Linked DNA regions of Homo sapiens: regions 2, 3, 4, 5, 6 and 7 are each linked to region 1. The links are contacts of gene promoters, found by promoter capture Hi-C in blood cells and fetal thymus (Javierre and others, 2016). All regions are on one chromosome and are shown on one strand. Each heading gives the region's core, a stretch centred on a gene start or on the middle of the fragment in contact. The rest is flanking DNA. Distances are from core to core; before and after follow the strand shown. Region 1 holds the start of CD180 (CD180 molecule). Region 2 has its middle 170 kb from the start of PIK3R1. Region 3 overlaps PIK3R1 (phosphoinositide-3-kinase regulatory subunit 1). Region 4 overlaps PIK3R1 (phosphoinositide-3-kinase regulatory subunit 1). Region 5 has its middle 150 kb from the start of PIK3R1. Region 6 overlaps LOC105379013 (a long non-coding RNA gene). Region 7 has its middle 200 kb from the start of PIK3R1.

Evidence for each region. Contacts are between HindIII fragments. The CHiCAGO score rates a contact against its expected background, and 5 or more counts as called.
Region 2: a contact is called between a fragment that was not itself captured here and the fragment with the promoter of CD180 in region 1, in 1 of 17 cell types (monocytes). The highest score is 5.5, in monocytes.
Region 3: a fragment that was not itself captured here is called in contact with the fragment with the promoter of CD180 in region 1 in 8 of 17 cell types (non-activated CD4 T cells, activated CD4 T cells, naive CD8 T cells and 5 more); the score reaches 20.1 in non-activated CD4 T cells.
Region 4: a contact is called between a fragment that was not itself captured here and the fragment with the promoter of CD180 in region 1, in 3 of 17 cell types (activated CD4 T cells, non-activated CD4 T cells and total CD4 T cells). The highest score is 5.4, in activated CD4 T cells.
Region 5: a contact is called between a fragment that was not itself captured here and the fragment with the promoter of CD180 in region 1, in 1 of 17 cell types (monocytes). The highest score is 5.4, in monocytes.
Region 6: a fragment that was not itself captured here is called in contact with the fragment with the promoter of CD180 in region 1 in 1 of 17 cell types (non-activated CD4 T cells); the score reaches 9.2 in non-activated CD4 T cells.
Region 7: a fragment that was not itself captured here is called in contact with the fragment with the promoter of CD180 in region 1 in 1 of 17 cell types (M2 macrophages); the score reaches 7.8 in M2 macrophages.

What each region holds. Positions count from the first base shown.
Region 1 is chr5:67,195,385-67,198,084 of GRCh38, forward strand. It overlaps CD180 (CD180 molecule), which reads right to left and starts at 1,415. Exons shown (of 3, transcript NM_005582.3): 1 at 1,168-1,415. The coding sequence starts at 1,257. RefSeq lists an enhancer at 239-388. The HindIII fragment of the contact is 10,485 bases long and covers 1-2,700 here.
Region 2 is chr5:68,385,827-68,388,526 of GRCh38, forward strand. No RefSeq gene overlaps it. Among named protein-coding and RNA genes, the nearest start is that of PIK3R1, 170 kb to the left of the region's middle. The HindIII fragment of the contact is 1,595 bases long and covers 640-2,234 here.
Region 3 is chr5:68,277,123-68,279,822 of GRCh38, forward strand. PIK3R1 (phosphoinositide-3-kinase regulatory subunit 1) reads left to right here. Exons shown (of 16, transcript NM_181523.3): 5 at 2,480-2,611. Among named protein-coding and RNA genes, the nearest start is that of PIK3R1, 63 kb to the left of the region's middle. The HindIII fragment of the contact is 4,294 bases long and covers 1-2,700 here.
Region 4 is chr5:68,295,778-68,298,477 of GRCh38, forward strand. It overlaps PIK3R1 (phosphoinositide-3-kinase regulatory subunit 1), which reads left to right. Exons shown (of 16, transcript NM_181523.3): 15 at 394-564; 16 at 1,635-2,700. The coding sequence ends at 1,824. Among named protein-coding and RNA genes, the nearest start is that of PIK3R1, 81 kb to the left of the region's middle. The HindIII fragment of the contact is 1,503 bases long and covers 675-2,177 here.
Region 5 is chr5:68,367,296-68,369,995 of GRCh38, forward strand. No RefSeq gene overlaps it. Among named protein-coding and RNA genes, the nearest start is that of PIK3R1, 150 kb to the left of the region's middle. The HindIII fragment of the contact is 2,224 bases long and covers 336-2,559 here.
Region 6 is chr5:68,457,137-68,459,836 of GRCh38, forward strand. All of the region lies in intron 3 of LOC105379013 (a long non-coding RNA gene), which reads right to left. Among named protein-coding and RNA genes, the nearest start is that of PIK3R1, 240 kb to the left of the region's middle. The HindIII fragment of the contact is 1,381 bases long and covers 610-1,990 here.
Region 7 is chr5:68,416,006-68,418,705 of GRCh38, forward strand. No RefSeq gene overlaps it. Among named protein-coding and RNA genes, the nearest start is that of PIK3R1, 200 kb to the left of the region's middle. The HindIII fragment of the contact is 4,501 bases long and covers 1-2,700 here.

The DNA.
Region 1 (2,700 bases), core at 165-2,664:
ATTTGTATTTTTAGTACAGATGGGGTTTTGCCATGTTGCCCAGACTGGTCTCGAACTCCCAGTCTCAAGGCATACACCCACCTTGGCCTCCCAAAGTGCTGGGATTATAGGCGTGAGCCACCACGCCTGGCCCAGTCTGTGGCATTTGTTATGACAGCCCAAGCAAAGCAACACACACCTTCCCAGCCTTCATTTCTCATTGGCATGATGCCTCCTCTTGGCCTGCTGCTGATTCCATCCTAATGCCAGACCAACAAGGCTCTGCTCACCCAGCTCTGAGCCTTACCCCAGTGCTGGCTTTGCTCTGCTCTTCCTGATCCTCTGATCTCCTTCTAGTCCTGCCCCAGGGCAACTCCACATCTGGCTATTCCTGGCTCTTACTCTTCTTTTTACCTCAACCCAGACCAGCAGCTCACCAAGCCACCAAGACTCATGGTTCCTCCTGTATGCAGCCCTTGTCTGACAGGCCACGTGGTATTGATCACTTGTGGGGTCAGAGAAAGTGGGAGGAAGTTTGAAGCATTTTAGAGGATGGCAAGAGACGGAGGCCCTTCTCCTTTTTCTCTCATTATCCCCTCCAAGAACTTCCCACAGGTTGATAAATATTGCTATGGTCCAAAACAGAAGGTGCAATTTGGCTCTATTCTCAGATTTTCCTCCTATGGGTTAGTAAAACAGATGGAAGGCTGTCCAAGTCCAAGAGAGAGCCAGACTCATTCAGAGTGATCTTTTCAATGCTCGAAAACCTGGCACAGCGCTGTCTTTACTAATTCTCACCCTGAGAGGAGACCAAAGGACTCATTGGGATAGAGGCCATGTGAGAGTGGGGATGTTAAACCAACAGCTCCCCTAGGTTGAGGCAGGTTTAGGGGTCTGCTTTGTGCACACAGACCCTATTAATATCTTATGACCCACTTGGGATTATTTGGGTGGAATTGTTTGAAGAGGAGAAAAATTCTCTTTGCTTCCTATTAAGATGCCACCAGATGATCCCCTGGCAGAGTTCTTTGGCTCCTTTCTCACAATAATGAAAAAATTATATATACACCTTATTTCCTTTTTAAAGACACTAGATATTGGGATGCCAAGGCTCAGATTGGACTGCGTGCTAAATCTCAAAATTTTCAGACAGTTTAATCTGCATAAAGACAAACAGTTTGGACTCACCTCAATGCACATCTGATCCCAGGAGGTGATGACTTTACAGCCGGCAGAAAACAGCACCACCCAAAAGAAGCAGCTGACGTCAAACGCCATCACAGGCTAGGATTGCTTGGTGGGTTTACCTAATGCTTGGAGCTGAGAAATGGAATCAAACTGTGAAGGCCCTGGCAATTTGGCAGCCAGAGAGGTACTCAGAAGGGTGATCTTGGAACAAGAAATGCTGTTGACTGCTCAGCATTCTGTGGCTCTGTGCTGGAAAAAAAAAAAAAAAAAAAAAAGGAAGTCCCTTTTGCATACCACCCATCTTTGCCAAAAATAACTGAGGACCCAACCCCAGAATGGCCCGTTGCATTTCCTGGCACTGAACATGAATCAGTTGTGCAGTCCTTTTGGGCTGATCACACAGACTCTCATTGTGATGGTTCCAATTGACTTTATGCCAACTTCAAGCATTTGGCCAACTCCAACAGCTTCTGGTCCTTTTCCCCGAGAGAGGCTGTGGAAGCTCTACTCACCAAGGAGGCCACTTTCTTAGTTGTCCTAGGTGAGTGAATAGAAGAGGTGTCAGAGAACATGGAAGGGCAGAGCACTCTGCAGGGGCAGACTGAAGAACTGAGCCCTTCAGTGGCACCTGCTGAGCTGGGAACTGGAGCAGGAGGGAGCAGGCTTGAGAGTGTATCTGCTCCTTGAGCCTCAGCTGCTGCCTTGGCCACCTTGTCCATCCCCACCTCTGGTCTTCGTATAGGGGGAAGATTACTTCATCTCTTGACCTGGCGGTTCAGGCTTGTTAAAGCAGTTGGGGTGGACTCTCTTGTTCCCTCCTAACCTGGCCTGGGGAAGTAGGGGACACTGCCATAGATAGAGCAGCCTGGCTAAAGGAGAGTAGAGTTAGGGATGCCAGCCTTGGCTCTATTTCTTCTTAGAAATAGCTTTGAAGCAGGATTACAATTACCCTTATTATGGAGCAAGATGTGGCAATGATTAAAGAAAGCCAAAGTTCAAACATTCCTCAATAGGCTGCATTTAGCTACCTGTTCTGTCTGTTCTTCAACCCTCTGGCATACAGGATATATTTGGTGTTACTGTTCTCCCACTCCATTTCCAAGAGCCCAGTTCTTAGTATCAGAGTTCACAATGACTTAACTACTGCTACTACTACTACTACCACCACCACCACCACCACCACCTCTACAGTATTACTATGATGAATCAAATGACTATAGTATCTGCCATTTATTGAGTCCTTACTATGTGTCAGACACTGGGTCAGGTTTAATGCAGTTTTTTGCTGCATTTTCCTATCCTCGAATATTTCCATATATTCTATAAGAGAGATATTATTATTTCCCTCATTTTATAGATGTAGAAACTGATGCTTAAGAGAAATTAAATGATCTCTCCAAGCCACACAATTAGAGAGTGGTAGATTAGGGCTTCAGATCCAGAAAATCTCACTGCAGAGACTATGCTGCTACTCTTCACAGTTTAAGAAAGGACTTTGCCTCCTGAAGGAGCTGAAGAGTAGATGGGGCGAAG
Region 2 (2,700 bases), core at 187-2,686, 1.2 Mb after region 1:
CTGTTGCTGTTTGTAGTCATATTAGTTATTTGCAGAGAATGAAAATGTGGGATCCAGACAATACATGATTATTTGGGGCTTCTAGCTTTCATCATATTTTTTAATAGACTTTATTTTAAGTCTTTTAACATACATTTTGCTTTATTAGAAAAAATTAAATAGTACTCTCTGTAGAGATTATCTAATCTAAGAGTTGCCAACATCTGTACCTACAAGAGCCAGGCAGTTAATACGAATGAGTCATGATGGTAGGGACGAGTAGGGCAATAGGTGGAGCCTCTAGGGTCATGGAGAGGAGGGCAGGATCCACCCAAAGAGGCACCCATTACCCAGGAATACCACTGCTGCCATGTAGAGATATGGCCCAGTATTGCCAGTGTCTCTGATTATGAAATGGTAGTTTCTATGTGAAATTTACTGATTACTGTGGTTTGAATGTGTCCTCCAAAGATCATGTGTTGGAAACTTAATCCCCAATGCAACAGTGTTGAGAGGTAGGACCTTTAAGAGGTGATTAGGAATGGATTAATGCCATTATCTCAGGAGTGGGTTAGTTATCATGAGAGCTTGGCTCTATCTTACTTGTCTGCTCTTGTGCTCTCTTGCTCTTTTGCCTTCTGTTACAGAATGATGCACAAAAGCTTTTTCCATATGCTCTTGGACTTCCCAGCCTCAAGAATCATAAGTCAAATAAACCATTTTTTTAAATCAACTACCCAGTCTGTGGTATTCCAGTCTAAGGTATTCTGTTACAGCAACACAACATAGACTACGACAATGATATTTAAGTCATTATTTAGCTCTTATACACACACTTATACACACATACTCAAGCTAAATAACAACAAAAAAATTTACGTCTAGATCTGGTCCTTGCATCACTGATTTAGAATACCTGATTTACAGCAATTGTACATTTAACAGATGGAGAAACAAGATCTATAAATGTGAGATGACTTGCCTAAGGTCATACAACTAGCTAGTGAGAGAGCTGAGACTAGAACTCAGCTTTCCTGACTTTTCAATCTCAGTTGATTTCACTACACCATACTGCCTTACAAGAAATGTTTTTGAAGTTACAGAAAAGTTCAAACTACAGAATACCTAAGGGAAAATCGTTTTATTCTCCTCTATTCCTCATTTCTCAGAGTTTTAATGATTAACCACAGCCATCAAATACATGTCTGAGACTGCCATGTGTCTGCATCTCAAGTCCTTTTCAGCTGATTGTACCTTTAGGATTTTTCTTGACAATGGCAATGAGTGAGCATTTGGGCCATCTACAAAGGGGACAAAATACAGTGCCTTGATTTAACATGTTGGGGAGTTTCAAAAGAAAAATCCCCAGTGCTTAGGCTTGCAGGCTGCTATAGACTGCACTGCAGTGCTCGTAGTCCCAGGGCCAGCAAAATCTTGACAGTTTATCATTTGGAGTAGGAATCAGCAAGTCCTAGTTTCATTTCCTACCAGGAATAGACAAAGCCTCCACAAGAAAATCATCCCTTGATGGCTGATAAAAATAGAATTGCAATTTATGTTTCCATCTACTCCCTCTATCGTCAGGCTCTTAAGGTGTACTTTCTGTCGTAATGGCTGATTTAGATGGATTCTTGGGGTGCTGGATCACTGCTGATGACATTAATGGTCTTGGGCTCCTTGAATCTTGATTGATTGCTATAATCTGTGAAACTATTTCAGGACATAGATTTATTATTATTAAGCCTATAAAATGGTGTCAGGGTCAAAGCAAACTGACGATGTGTGTTGTGATGCAAACATGGCCAAGGTGTGGATGCCACCATTTAATAGAAGTGAATGGCAGGAAGGAACAGTGTTTCATCCTCCACTCATGACCTGACTCAGGCCTTCTCCAAAAGGGGTAGTGAATTTGAGCTCCATTTGCACTGGGCAGGGGTTGAGAAGGGGGATGCAAAGAAGATAAATGTATACTATCAATTATTCTCCTACATTTTTGAATTCCTTAAGGAACTTTTGATAGAATTTTCTTTTCAGTTCACTTAAAACTGAAATGAAAATTTAGAAGTGGCTAAAGATTTTCTCCATTTTTCTCTGGCCCCCAGATAGTGTCTAGCTTTCGTAGCTCAAACCTGTTGTTTTTGGACTCTGAGAAAATATTAATATCCCACTTAACCTCTATCAAGGAGAGAAGAAAAAGCTAAGCAGGGAATTATATTATAGCTATTTTATCCTTCCTTTCTTCTCTCCTTTCAGAAAGCTTCTGGTTCCTCTATTAAGGGCAAGGAAAAGGATTTTATATTAGACTGGGTTCCAGAAAGATATTCTCAGAATCACCATTTCAAACTCCTCTTTAGATGGGAGGGAAGTATTCAACAAAATAATAATTCATGTTTTCAATTTACCTGTGGAATGTAGAAAGCTAGGAAGAGCTCCAATCTCATTCTTACAGCAATATAAAGTCAGACAATTGTATATTTATAACCTTTTATAGATTTCTCAAAAAGCTGAGGTCATAAGTCAACCAACTAACTCACAATTTAAGGAAGACAGGTGACTGCAAGAAGAGGTGGATTGTGAACACTCTCCTTTTTCCTAGGGCTCATACAATGAACACCCACCAGCAAGAAGAATTCAGCTAAAATTACTAATGAATTGATTGAGAGTGGCCAATGTAGACTAATGAGAAAGTATAGAATTCTGGGGGCCACAGATAGAAGGTGA
Region 3 (2,700 bases), core at 48-2,547, 1.1 Mb after region 1:
TAGGATAAGCAAATTCGGTAATATTAATTTTCCGGGCAGAGAGACATTAGATGAAACATGCGGGGCAAAGTGTATGGGAAACCAGAAGCACGGCCAAGAGTGGTGACCATAGAGAATTCCTATAGCAGCACACACACAATTTTATTTGACAGTATTTAATTATGCTCACAATTGCATTACCTTCAACGTAGATCCTTTATGCAGAGGATCTACTACAGTGGTATTGCCCCTCCCACACTTGTTAAACATGTGATATGTCTCTGGTTGGTTGTTTGTAGGACATTTAAGTGATTTAACACTTCGCCTCTTCACCTTTTAAATTTAATAATTCTTTTCCTCAAGTTGACCTATCCATATCCTATTCCAGACCTACTTTTCTTAGAGCTGTGTGGTTGTGTGACTCACTTTCGGAACGTCGGCCTACCTAGTGGGGCAAGTTTGGTTTATGATGATATGTCCAAGGAATTTTTGTAGTCTTAGGCTCAACCTAGAATGATTTGTACTGTCATATTCCATTCAAGGTTATCTAGGATACTACCTTCTCCCACTCATTTATACTCAAACACTTTGCAGTAAACTTTCATACTTCCTCATTCTCTCCTAGGCCACAGCCCAATGCAGTCAATCACCGAGTTATATGAGGTCTCGATAATATTTTGTACATTTCTAACTGCATTAGAATTCAGACCCCCATCACCTTGATTCAGAGAACTAAATCTGGTAGTTTTACTTCTAGCAGCACTCCCTTCCAATTTATTCTTAACACTGTCATTAGTAAAGCTGTTACAAACGTAGTATCTTGCCCATCAGCCCACCTTTGCTCCACTGAGTACACAAGTCCCCAGATTACTTTCCTCAAGTTATCCTTCGCATTGCTAGTGTACATCCTTCAGCAGCAGCCAAAGTCCTCTCCTTTTCTAGAGGCCCATGGTCACCCCTGCCCCCAGATCTTTGTTTCTAGCATCCCTTTCTTCTGCTGGGCATTGTGTCTTTTTCCAACCCAAGTACTTAGAGTGCCATGCGTAGTGAGTGCCTGGAGGGTGGTATTGATTAGTTTTACCCCCATTATTGGATTGCTTGACCTGTTTCCCAGCTGAGGGATTTACTGGACAGGTATGCTCATCTTATTTTCTGAGATTGTCTGATATCCACAGGTTAGATTAGTAATACTCAGACAGAATTAGGGAGAAACATTCTAAAAATGTTCAAATTATTTTCATGGATATTCTTGAGATTGGTTGCTAAAAGTCTGTAGTATCTTACTGTTGAATCCATCACTCTGTTGGTGACATTTACATGAATTCTGAGACATATCAACTCAAGTCTTAGGAAATCTGGGAATATGCATTTTTAAATTTTTCCTGTTGAGGTTTTAGGAAACATTTACTATATGACTAACCATTCCTAGTTAGAACCCTTTTCAGTCAGGGCAGAACCACCCTCAGAGGATGTTAGGAAATGTTTGGGTTCTGTATTCGTTTGCTCAGGCAGTTATAACAAGTTACCACAGACTGCGTGGCTTAAAACGCAGAAACTTGGCCAGGCACAGTGGCTCACACCTGTAATCCCAGCACTTTGGGAGGCTGAGGCGGGTGGATCACGAGGTCAGGAGTTTGAGACCAGCCTGACCAACATGATGAAACCCTGTCTCTACTAAAAATACAAAAATTAGCCAGGCGTGGTGGTACACACCTGTAATCCCACCTACTCAGGAGGCTGAGGCAGGAGAATCGCTTGAACCCGGGAGGTGAAGGTTGCAGTGAGCCGAGATCACACCAGAGATGCACTCCAGCCTTGGCTACAGAGTGAGACTCCATCTCAAAAAGCAGAAACTTACTTCTCGTGGTTCTGGAGGCTAGAAGTCCGAGAAAAAAGCATGTTTGGTTTCCCCTGAGGCTTCTGTCCTTGGCTTGTAGATGGTCACCTGCTCACTGCATCCTCACAGCGTTTCTCCTCTGTGCCTGTGCATCCCTAGTGTGTCTCTCTCTGTGTCCTCATTTCCCCTCCTAGAAGGATATCAGTTACATTGGATTAGAGTCCACTCTAATGGCCTCATTTTAACTTACATGCAGTCACTTTCTGAGGCATTAGGAGTTTGGGCTTAGAGGGGTGGGACAGAGGATGGGGTAGGTAACCACTGAAGATGCAGCCCAATTCAGCCCATAACAAAGGCATTATTTTTTGTTGCCCCAAAGTGTGGAGGTCTGCTACTGGCATCATGGGCAGGGGGTCAGGCATCCTAAGTGCTTGCAATATGTCAGAGAGACCTCCACAGGAAAAATTGTTCTACCCCAAATGCCCGGAGCAACCCCTACAAGAAGTACGGCTAACGAATACTTTGTGTCTTGTATTTATCCTCATATTGCTTCCTTATTTTTTTTTTTTTTTGTCACATGTGAGTCAAATTGTTCAGAAAATTAGCCCAACTGATGTATTCTATAAAATAAATGTCTGAAATATTTCTTAAATTGTTTCCTAGATACACCCTCCGTGGACTTGGAAATGATCGATGTGCACGTTTTGGCTGACGCTTTCAAACGCTATCTCCTGGACTTACCAAATCCTGTCATTCCAGCAGCCGTTTACAGTGAAATGATTTCTTTAGCTCCAGGTTTGTTTTTTCTCTTCTGGGAACCTCATTGAACATACATGGAGATGTAGAGGTGCTTGTATATGTCTTGCATATATAGAAATAGTGGT
Region 4 (2,700 bases), core at 176-2,675, 1.1 Mb after region 1:
AAAATAATTATGCTTAATATATTTTAAAGCTTAAGTATATACTTTGTTTGAATTAGTCAAAAACTGGCAATCTGCCTAGTCAATTTCCTGATCTAAACTGGATAAACGAGATTGTTTTAATACCTTCCACTCTGCCCAGGTACCTGAGTGTGGTTGCTTGAAAACAGAAATAGTACAGTTGATTGGTAACTCTTTGTCCTGGGAGGTTGCACTGGAGGCTGAATACCAGGAGAGGAAAACTCAGGTCGGGCAGAGGCAGGCATGTGATGGCCAGTCTGACTGGCTTGGTAGGGGCCAGGAGGGAAGTGACGGGGGTATGCCTAGGGAAGACAGCAAGGCAGGCTGATGGCTCCTGCACTCTTCATTTAGAAACTTTCTGTCCTGCCTGCCTAGCCAATATTCACTGGTGGAAGATGATGAAGATTTGCCCCATCATGATGAGAAGACATGGAATGTTGGAAGCAGCAACCGAAACAAAGCTGAAAACCTGTTGCGAGGGAAGCGAGATGGCACTTTTCTTGTCCGGGAGAGCAGTAAACAGGGCTGCTATGCCTGCTCTGTAGTGTATGTATCTCCAGCAAACTTTTCTTTACAACATCTCATGAAGAGATGTTTCATTTATTCATTCATTGAGTTTTGGGGGCAAAGATTTGACATAGTTTTAGTCTTGAATAAGCTTACAGTACAATAATGTAGAAGAGAAACCAAAGCAGCTGTAATACCATTTTAAAGTCTAGCCAGAAGTGTATGTTAATACAGTCTAATAGATACCTACTGTTTAGTTGGAAGACTAGGTTTGGATTCCCATTCAGTGCTAATTAATCATGAGAAATCGCCAAGTCTTTTTTTCTCATCTTTAAAATGGAAGTGGCAGTGCCTGCCTTTTTTGCCTCTCAAGGCTACTATAGTTAGAATCTGAGGTAATTTATGTGAGAACATCACCCATAGGAAAAATACTCATCAGGAACAGGTGAAAAAAAAAAGGATTCTGATCATTATCCTTGAGATAGGTACACCCACATTGGATCACTGACATCACCATTTCCAAGAAATTAATGTCCTCTAGTAGGGAATGGTTCTAAAAGTATGTTACACTCCATGATCACCTTTCATTTAATGAGAGAAATAGTCCTACAGCAAAGAAGGGTACTTTTGTCCTTACTGTGCATAAGGGCACATGCAGAGATGGAGAGTTGTGCAGACACCTCAAGGACAGCCAGAAAGAAGGAATCCTATGAATAGTCATAATGGGAGTAATAGTAACACTGCTAGTCATGGAGCACTGCAGATAGTTGTCCTCATCATGATTGGAAGCTACCACTTGTTGCATGCTTACTGCATGTCAGGCATTCTATCTAGCATTTTGCATGCATGATCTCATTTCATTTCTCAAAGTAACTGTATTACATGTATTTTACTATTGTCTTCCCTTTAAACCATTTTAAAGATGAAAATACAGTCAGTCAGTGAAGCTGGGTTACCTACCCAAGGCACTCGGCCAGGTGTCAGTTGTAACCTAGGACCCTTTCCCCAAGTTGAGACTGCACAATAATGCTTTTTATTAAAGATGCCCTGAAGAGTTGTGAATTGTCTTGGACAAGCTCAAAAGACAGTTTTTCTTCTCTCCTCTCTAGGGTGGACGGCGAAGTAAAGCATTGTGTCATAAACAAAACAGCAACTGGCTATGGCTTTGCCGAGCCCTATAACTTGTACAGCTCTCTGAAAGAACTGGTGCTACATTACCAACACACCTCCCTTGTGCAGCACAACGACTCCCTCAATGTCACACTAGCCTACCCAGTATATGCACAGCAGAGGCGATGAAGCGCTTACTCTTTGATCCTTCTCCTGAAGTTCAGCCACCCTGAGGCCTCTGGAAAGCAAAGGGCTCCTCTCCAGTCTGATCTGTGAATTGAGCTGCAGAAACGAAGCCATCTTTCTTTGGATGGGACTAGAGCTTTCTTTCACAAAAAAGAAGTAGGGGAAGACATGCAGCCTAAGGCTGTATGATGACCACACGTTCCTAAGCTGGAGTGCTTATCCCTTCTTTTTCTTTTTTTCTTTGGTTTAATTTAAAGCCACAACCACATACAACACAAAGAGAAAAAGAAATGCAAAAATCTCTGCGTGCAGGGACAAAGAGGCCTTTAACCATGGTGCTTGTTAATGCTTTCTGAAGCTTTACCAGCTGAAAGTTGGGACTCTGGAGAGCGGAGGAGAGAGAGGCAGAAGAACCCTGGCCTGAGAAGGTTTGGTCCAGCCTGGTTTAGCCTGGATGTTGCTGTGCACGGTGGACCCAGACACATCGCACTGTGGATTATTTCATTTTGTAACAAATGAACGATATGTAGCAGAAAGGCACGTCCACTCACAAGGGACGCTTTGGGAGAATGTCAGTTCATGTATGTTCAGAAGAAATTCTGTCATAGAAAGTGCCAGAAAGTGTTTAACTTGTCAAAAAACAAAAACCCAGCAACAGAAAAATGGAGTTTGGAAAACAGGACTTAAAATGACATTCAGTATATAAAATATGTACATAATATTGGATGACTAACTATCAAATAGATGGATTTGTATCAATACCAAATAGCTTCTGTTTTGTTTTGCTGAAGGCTAAATTCACAGCGCTATGCAATTCTTAATTTTCATTAAGTTGTTATTTCAGTTTTAAATGTACCTTCAGAATAAGCTTCCCCACCC
Region 5 (2,700 bases), core at 198-2,697, 1.2 Mb after region 1:
TTCAAAGCATGAATGTAAGAGCAGACAGGTAATCTGTGGCAGCAGCTCAGACCTGTCCATGGGTCAGTATGTCTGAGGGTATGAGGAAGGGGGAAATGAGAAAAAGATTACAAGTGGTGTGACCTGGAGGCTAAGTTGGCACCCAGGGCTTATGCGAGGCACAACAGATACCAAGTCTGTGGGCAGCCAAGATAAACTCCAGGCCCCACATCTGGAGGGGCTGAGGCAGCTGATATGCTTCCTACCCTAGTCTAGACTAGCTCAGCTCCCAGGCATGAATGAGCCTAAATGTGGAAGACATTGGAGAATTTTGCCGTGAGTAGCAAGAAAGATGAAGCTTGACAGATGCTGGTGCAGGCAACCAGGTATCACTTATTATTTAGGAGGCAAGATGTCATAATGCTATATTAAAAGTGTCAAATTTGGGTCATTGTATAGAACGCATCGAAAGAAGAGTCAGGGAAAAAACAAGACTGTTGCATTTATCTTGGCCAGAGATGACAGAATCTCAGCATTTGGACCACAGCTACTTTCTCCTATACCCATGACAGACACCTCTGATTGATTAAAATATTCTCTCCTGCTGATCCGAGACAAGGCATCAGAGTCTTTTCAAAACTCTATTCTGCCTAGACAGCCACTCTGACAGATAGAAACTGGCATGCAAAGCCCCTGGTCTAGGTGTCAGCTGCTACGGGGTGATGACAATTGGGAGAGGTGAAAAGGGAGAAAATTCTGTGGAAATAATCAGTAGAAGTCAGTGCCTAAATTTTCTGTGGGGACAAGATAGGGCAAGTTTGAAGAAAGTCAAGCTCAAAGATCATAGCAAGGCTTCATTCAAGTCTTAGGATGTAGGAGAATATGTGCCATTAAGAAAAGTACCCTTTCTGGAAAAGCAAAAACATAAACCACCACCCCTCAAGGAATTCAGAAAAATGAGCTGGTTGACGGAGAAAAGATGACTTGTTCACTTTCTGAGGTCCTGGCAACACGTGCAGGTAGAGGTGTCAGCCCAGCAGTTCGTGTTGGATATTCTTCAAACAGTAACTGCTTTTAAACTTGCTGTCTCAGTGTGTGGATGGGTGCTCTGGGAAGACACAAAGAATGTGTTGGATACTTTGTCCTTGAGAAGTTCAGAAGATAATAGCAGCACAGGGACACCCACACATGACTAATAAGGACATGTAAAACCCAAACAAATCAAACAGAAACCACAGGCACATACTTAGGGAAGGGATGAATAATTGGAGAAAGGAGGCAAGTCATGGAAGGTGAAGGTAGAACTCGAAGAAGCTCTGAGCACGAGCACACCACCGGAGCCAGAAAATGACCTGGACTATTCCATGTGCATATCTAGTTGTCCAAAAAGGGCATTCCCATCTTGAGAATGCAAAACCAGTCACTGATGTCATTATATGATGTTTACTTATTGTCAGCCATATTCTAGGCATTATGGCAGTGGTCAGAAACCCTTTGCTCTTAAGGATCTCACAGACCTGTGGGTGAGAGAGATGTACCAAGTCATTACACTATAACACAAGAAATGCTGAGATACGAGTATGCAGATGCAGAGAACAATATAGGTGCACATAGCAGGGTCTAACACAGCCTGAGGGGGCAGGGCTGGCACCCTAGAGAGGAGGAAGCTGGAGGTGTACTTTCAAAGCAAAATAGAAAGATTGATTCATTTATCCATCACTGTCCATTCACATGCCAAGTTTCCCAGGTCTCCTGGGCAGCACCAGCAGAACAGAGAAGTGTGTAGGTGTGGAGTACCACTCAGGGTGGGCACTCTAATGCGGCTCCCCAGGCTTGATCCTGGAAACAGGCCAGAGAATTTTGAATCACCTTTTATTTATTTAGTCATTCATTCTTTTTTTTTTTTTTTTTTTTTTTGAGAGAGAGAAGCATAACAGAGCATTTATATCTTAACTGTTGTATTTTTTGTATGTTGGCTGGCTTCCAGAATAACCTGACTAAATAGACTCACCAGCCTTTAGAGCAGGCCCTCCAAGGAATCCTTCTCCTGTGCTGATGTTCCTAAAAGTCTTCTCTACCAGGAAAATGAAAGGAAAGCTGACCTCATAAAGTTGTTAAGACAAGGGTTTATTGCTGTTGTTTGTTTGTTTTATCACTGTTAAGGTCTCCTATCTTTAAAAAATCAATTTTTTGTAATTTTTTAAATGTCTGATTATGGTAAAAAAGACACACACATAGCAAAAGGTACTGTCTTCCCTATTTTTAAGTGTACAGTTCAGTACTGTTAAAGACAATCACATTGTTGAACATCCCATTTTTAGAACATCCCATTTTTAGAACTTTTTTATTTTTCAAAACTGAAACTACATATACGTTAAACAACTCCCCACTTTCCCCTCCCCCCAGTCCCTGTCAACCACCATTCTACTTTCTGTTTCTACGAATTGGACTATTCTAGGTACCTCGTATAAGTAGACTCATACAGTATTTGTCTTTTGGCGACTGGCTTCTTTCATTTAGCGTAATGTTTTCAAGGCTTATCCGTGTTGTAACATTTGTCAGAATTTCCTTCCTTTTTAAAGCTTGATAATATTCCATTGTATGCACATTCTGCATTTGGTTTATCCATTCATCTGTTGATGAATGAGTGCCTTTTGCCTCTTGTCTACTGTACATAATGCTGCTGTGAACATGGGAACATGGGAGTGCAGATGTCTTCTC
Region 6 (2,700 bases), core at 50-2,549, 1.3 Mb after region 1:
CAGTGGAAATATCTAGACGAAAAGGTGAAATTCAAAGTGCTAATTTCAAGAGGCAGTATCTTTTATAAGTAATATGAATTCGTGCTATTTGTCTATAAGGAAAACATGCTTCCTGTTCAGTAAAGTCATTTTCACAACCTCAGGAATGCTGCCATTATTAAGATAGTTAACAGCATCTTCTAAAAAAATTGTGGACTCAGGTTCATCATTTCAAACAGCTGATACACAATACACAATGTAGAAATTAAAGATAACTTGGCCAGGTGCGGTGGCTCACATCTGCAATCCCAGCTACTCGGGAGGCTGAGGTAGGAGAATCGCCTGACACCCGGGAGGCCAAGGCTGCAGTGAGCCGTGATTGCGCCACTGCATTCCAGCCTGGGCAACAGAGCAAGACCCTGTCTTAAAAAAAATAACCGAGCCACCAAGTGATCCTATCTTAGGAGATGGAAACCCCCATCATAAGAAGAGTAGGTAAATGTCTGCAGTCTAGCCTCTGGGAATGAAATTTCTTAAGGACGGGCTTCATGGATTTGGGGCTCATGAACCTGCAAGAACACTGGCAATCAAGAGAGTAAAAACATAACCAGAAGGGTTCAGAGTTTGGGAAGCTTCTTCGTAGCACTAACTGAGATATTGCTAATTAGTGGCTCTCCAAAATATTATTAAAATAATCTGTTGATTCTGGACAGTCTTTATTAGGGGAGGAGGCTGTCCTGTGCATTATAGGATGTTTAGCAGCATTCCTGACTTCTACCCTCTAGATGCCAGGAGCAGCCCCAGTCATGACAACCAGAAATGTTGCCAGACATGGCCAAATATCCCCTGGGAGGCAAAATCATCCCCAGTTGAGAACTGATGGCTTAAAGTTAATGGAGAACACTATTTACAAAAAATCTCACTAGAGTCTCGGGGTGCAGGTAGGGGATGGAGCAAAGTTGGGAGTATTTTTGAGATTGTGAAGTCTGGATTTTTTCCAATGTGTATCTTTTAGTGTGAGAGCCAGGGAGCCCTGGCTGGGGTCTAGTGAGGACCATAATCTAATCACTTAGAATGGGCAAACACAAGATGAAGATTTTGAGGGCAAAGACTCGGAAATGCTCAAATTTTAAAATTTTCCTTGAATGCTTTCTATTGACGAGTTGATGTGTCTTTGGGGAAATTCCTGGAATGAACAATACAGTTATTTGTAACTGTTATCTTCTTGAGGAAGAGTTTTCTGGAACAGTAAAGTTATGCTGATGAAGATCCTGGAATAGTAAAATCATGTTAACGTAGACTGTGTGGATATAAATACGTTTTAGATCTCAGTGAATTCCTTAAGTTCCTTGATTTTTTGCCCCTGCCCTTTTGCCCGTTATTACCACATTCAGAAAAGCCAATAAAATACAAAAAAAAAAAAAAAGAGACTAAAGAGGCAGCAGGAAGAAGGAGGGGCTCGGATGTTGCTGCTGGGCTCCATCCTGGCTTCACCACACTGACACCTGCATGACCTGGGTGAGCAACATACTTTCTCCAAACCTCAGCCTCTCCATCAATATATGGAAGTTGATAATAGTGACTCCTTCATCAAGTTGTGGTAGAGTTTGAATGAAATAATACATGACCAGTGCCCTAGACATACTATGCACTCAGTGGGTATAAATCAACTGTGTAAAACTAGGAAAACATGCCATCACTATGGTGCTTCTATGCTTAGACCAACATGCCTTTGGGGACTGCCTCATTCTTTCTGAAAACTAAGCAAATACTGGGTTTAAAAGGAAGCAGAAGTGTTGTCTCTGCACCCTAGAAATATTGTGTAGGGAGAGGTGGCTAACTCTCCTAAATCCTTCCACCCATGTTTTTAACTGAGCATGCTCTTGGATCACCACTAAAATGCATGGGGGAATTTAGGCTGTAATTTAGTAATGCCACTGTTTATAAAAGTAGAGGAACAATGAGAACACCATGGCATTAGTTTGGAGTAGGTTAAAAATTACTTTTCTGAAGCTTATCTACTAGAATGTTTATCTAAGCTATTTTTCATGGGACGTTTTAAAGACAATACCTTCCTTCAATAGCCATGACCTTGAATTCATTACATGGTGGAATTCTACTGCTTACTCTCTCCTAATTCTGAAAGCCAGCCATATTCTTCAAGTGGGAGACTCATTTGTACAGTGCCAGGTGCTGATCTAGGCACTTCATATGAACTTTCTCCTTTAATCCTCAGTCTGTAAGGTAAATACCGTGATGAGAAATCTGATACTCAGAGTCAAGCAATACAGTGAGGAGACCCAGCTGACACACAAGTGGAGGCAGAATTTAAGCCTTGTCTAGTGGGCTCCAAAGTCGATGGTTCTACTGCAGCATGTTACCACCTACATGTCTATTTCTCAAAACAGCAACAAACAGAAAAACCCTAAGATAACACATCAAACATCCTAGTCATGGTTTTACAGAGTCTGGGTCCATATGCAGTATTTGAACAGATAAACTGGTTTCTAGTATGTTGGCAAGGAAGGGGCAATCTTGCAAGGTGGATAGATCTAATCTGATTGTAAGGTGACTGAAATAACCAGACACCAGCCTCAGGGAGCCTCATTGCCAGTCCAGTTGTTTGCCTAATTTTAACCAGTGAATGAAGTAGATCCAATCCATTGGTTGACACTTAACTGCTGTTGATGGGGCTGAGAGGAAGAAAAACAAGTCCGTCCC
Region 7 (2,700 bases), core at 198-2,697, 1.2 Mb after region 1:
CTTTATCAACACCTTCTTTCCCCAAGGACTGTGTGTGCCTGTGTGTGTGTATGAGTTTAAGTGTACACATATAGAGGTAATGGGCTTTGGGGACAATAAAGGCAGGAATGGGTATAGCCAAAGAATGAGAGGAGAATGGGCCCATTAAAGTCAAGGAAAATGAAAAGCTGTTTGATAGTAAAATATATACACAAATGGATAACAAATTTAATTTGTGAGCCTTAAGAAAGACTCAAAATTATAATAGGCCACATTAAATTTGATTATTGGAAACTTTCAAAAGAACCCTTCTTATGTGCCCCAGTTGCTACAATGACATTTCCAATTCAATGTATTAAATGATCACTCTATAGGATTGGCCCTCGGCCGACTGACACCTGCTTCATCTCTGCTTTCTGGTGTTGAATATAAATTAATGTTCTTCATTTATTGTACCTTGTTTATTAAACTAACCTTCTGACATTTCACCAGTGCTCATTAGGGTTAAAGTCTGTCTCCTACTCAGAAAGGGTGACTTTGAGTTAGGTGAGGCTCAGGCTGGTTGGGCTCAGCTGTGGGGCTCCTTAACAATTGTGGGAGGAATTGTGGGAGGGAAGCAGGTGGGTCTGAAAGTCCTGGTGGGAAATGATGCTGAAATGTAGACAAAGGAGACACTGAAAATTACCCTTTTGGTCTGTGTTTTGCAAACTATTTGTATGGTCTCTTTTTAAAGGAAAAATTTGACATTTCAGGATTTTCAGTGTTTTATCATTTTACTTAATTACGAAAATGCTTATAGGTACTGAACACATGTACACACCTGTAGTACAACTCTAAATCCCAAAGAAATAAGCTATAAAAACTATAAATTCAAATTAGCAAAAGTAATTTAATAAGGATGGTTCTGTTTTACTGAAACAGAGTCATCTAGATTGATTTAATAAGACAAATGCATTTGCATGCTTTATGTCTCATTTTTTGGACTTGATTCTTTTGCTTTTGATAAGGCATTATTTAAGACATTATTGTTATTTTTCTTTAAAAAATTAACTCATTTTAAACCAATTAGGTTCATGGGCCACTTAAAACTGTGTTTCAAAATGCAATACTAGCAGGAAAAAACCCATTGAATTCCACTGAATAAGGAGTTTTCCACTGTCTTTTTGTAACTACCTGTACTGCCCCCTTATGAACTGCTCGATGTGCTGGAGTACAAAGATGGGTGCCCACTAACATGTTTGCTAGCCACAGGGTCTTGATGCTGACCACTGTGACTGAGTCTTTGAACAAGGCATGACTGGGCTGCCAATTGCTGAGGGTATTCAATTTCTTCACTATTCAGTTTCCTCATTTAAATTGTGAATGCTGCTTCTACTCATCATGCTATGATGCCGTTTGGTCTTCAGTAATGCTAAAGGGATAGGAACATAAATGCAAATTCAGACATAGAAACTGAGTAGCGGAGCTCAATTACAAGGTAATTGTTTCATGTCCAGAACTGCTTGTAGTAATGTACAAAATTACAAAGCCAAAACTATCACAGAAATTCTACACATTAGAGAACACATCCATGTTTGCACAACATCTTCCTAGTTTGTTGTTTTGCCTGGGACTATTGGACCTTGTTAATAGATTCGTCTAAGCACAGTTAATAAAATAACTTTTTGGCATTCAGAAATGTACTGTAGAGGGCTCTTATAATGGGATTATGGGACTGTGGAGAGATGACCCTTATAAAAGCATGTGATCATCATAGGTAAAAAGATTTTTTTTTTTTTTTTTTTTTTTTTGCTAAGGTGTGCTCCTAATTGAATTTTACTTTTCTGCTTTAGCTAACAAAGTTTTTTTAAAAAATGTAATGACTTTTGAAAATATATCATTACTTTTAACTTAACATATGTGCAAACCAACATTCACAGTTTCAAGTTTATGTGTTTCTGGTCAAGCCAGAGGCTGCTCCCTTGCAGCATTTTAATACCTCTGGTGGAAAAAAAAAAAAAAAAAATCATTTCTTGTTTGATACAGAAAAGAGAAAAGAACAAAATTAAATAAAAATGTTTTATGCCCCTTTAAAAAAGTTAACCTGAAAACCCAAAAGTTTATTTTGATTTCTGTTGGATAGAGACCATCACCCAAGGGATAGGTTTGCCGACAAAGGCACCAGAAATTTCTATTAAGTGCCTTATTTCATGCAGTGCTTCATTTAATTCCTGAAGACAGATTTCCAGTCTGCACAAGTACCAACACACATGTATTCATACTTTCCCCACAGCTTGCCGAAACTTAGGTGTCAAAGTCTCCCGCAATAGATTACTCTTCTATGAGGGAATATGCAGACTTGCTAGTCCATGGGCCATTGTTCCCTAGCACTAAGTTGAAATGATTCTGCCAACCGGGACCCCAGAGATATCAGAGATTTCATCATCTGGTGCCTAGCTGAGCTGCTCAAGGTCATTGACTAACTTAATGGCTCAGAAGATTATTGCAATCCTGAAGGAAACATTCCAGGACAAGTCATTCCTATTTATAGAAATAGCTTAAAAATGTTCCCAATAAACTCTTTACTCTGTCTACTTGACTTAAAATATAATTCTATTGCTCAAGTATTTACATATATATAAATTCGTGTGTTTGTATCTGGACAGGTAATGATGTGTACTTTAGGGACAAATCTTTGGTTTGCTTCTTAGAAATACATAGTCTTCATTCCACCAAACGCCC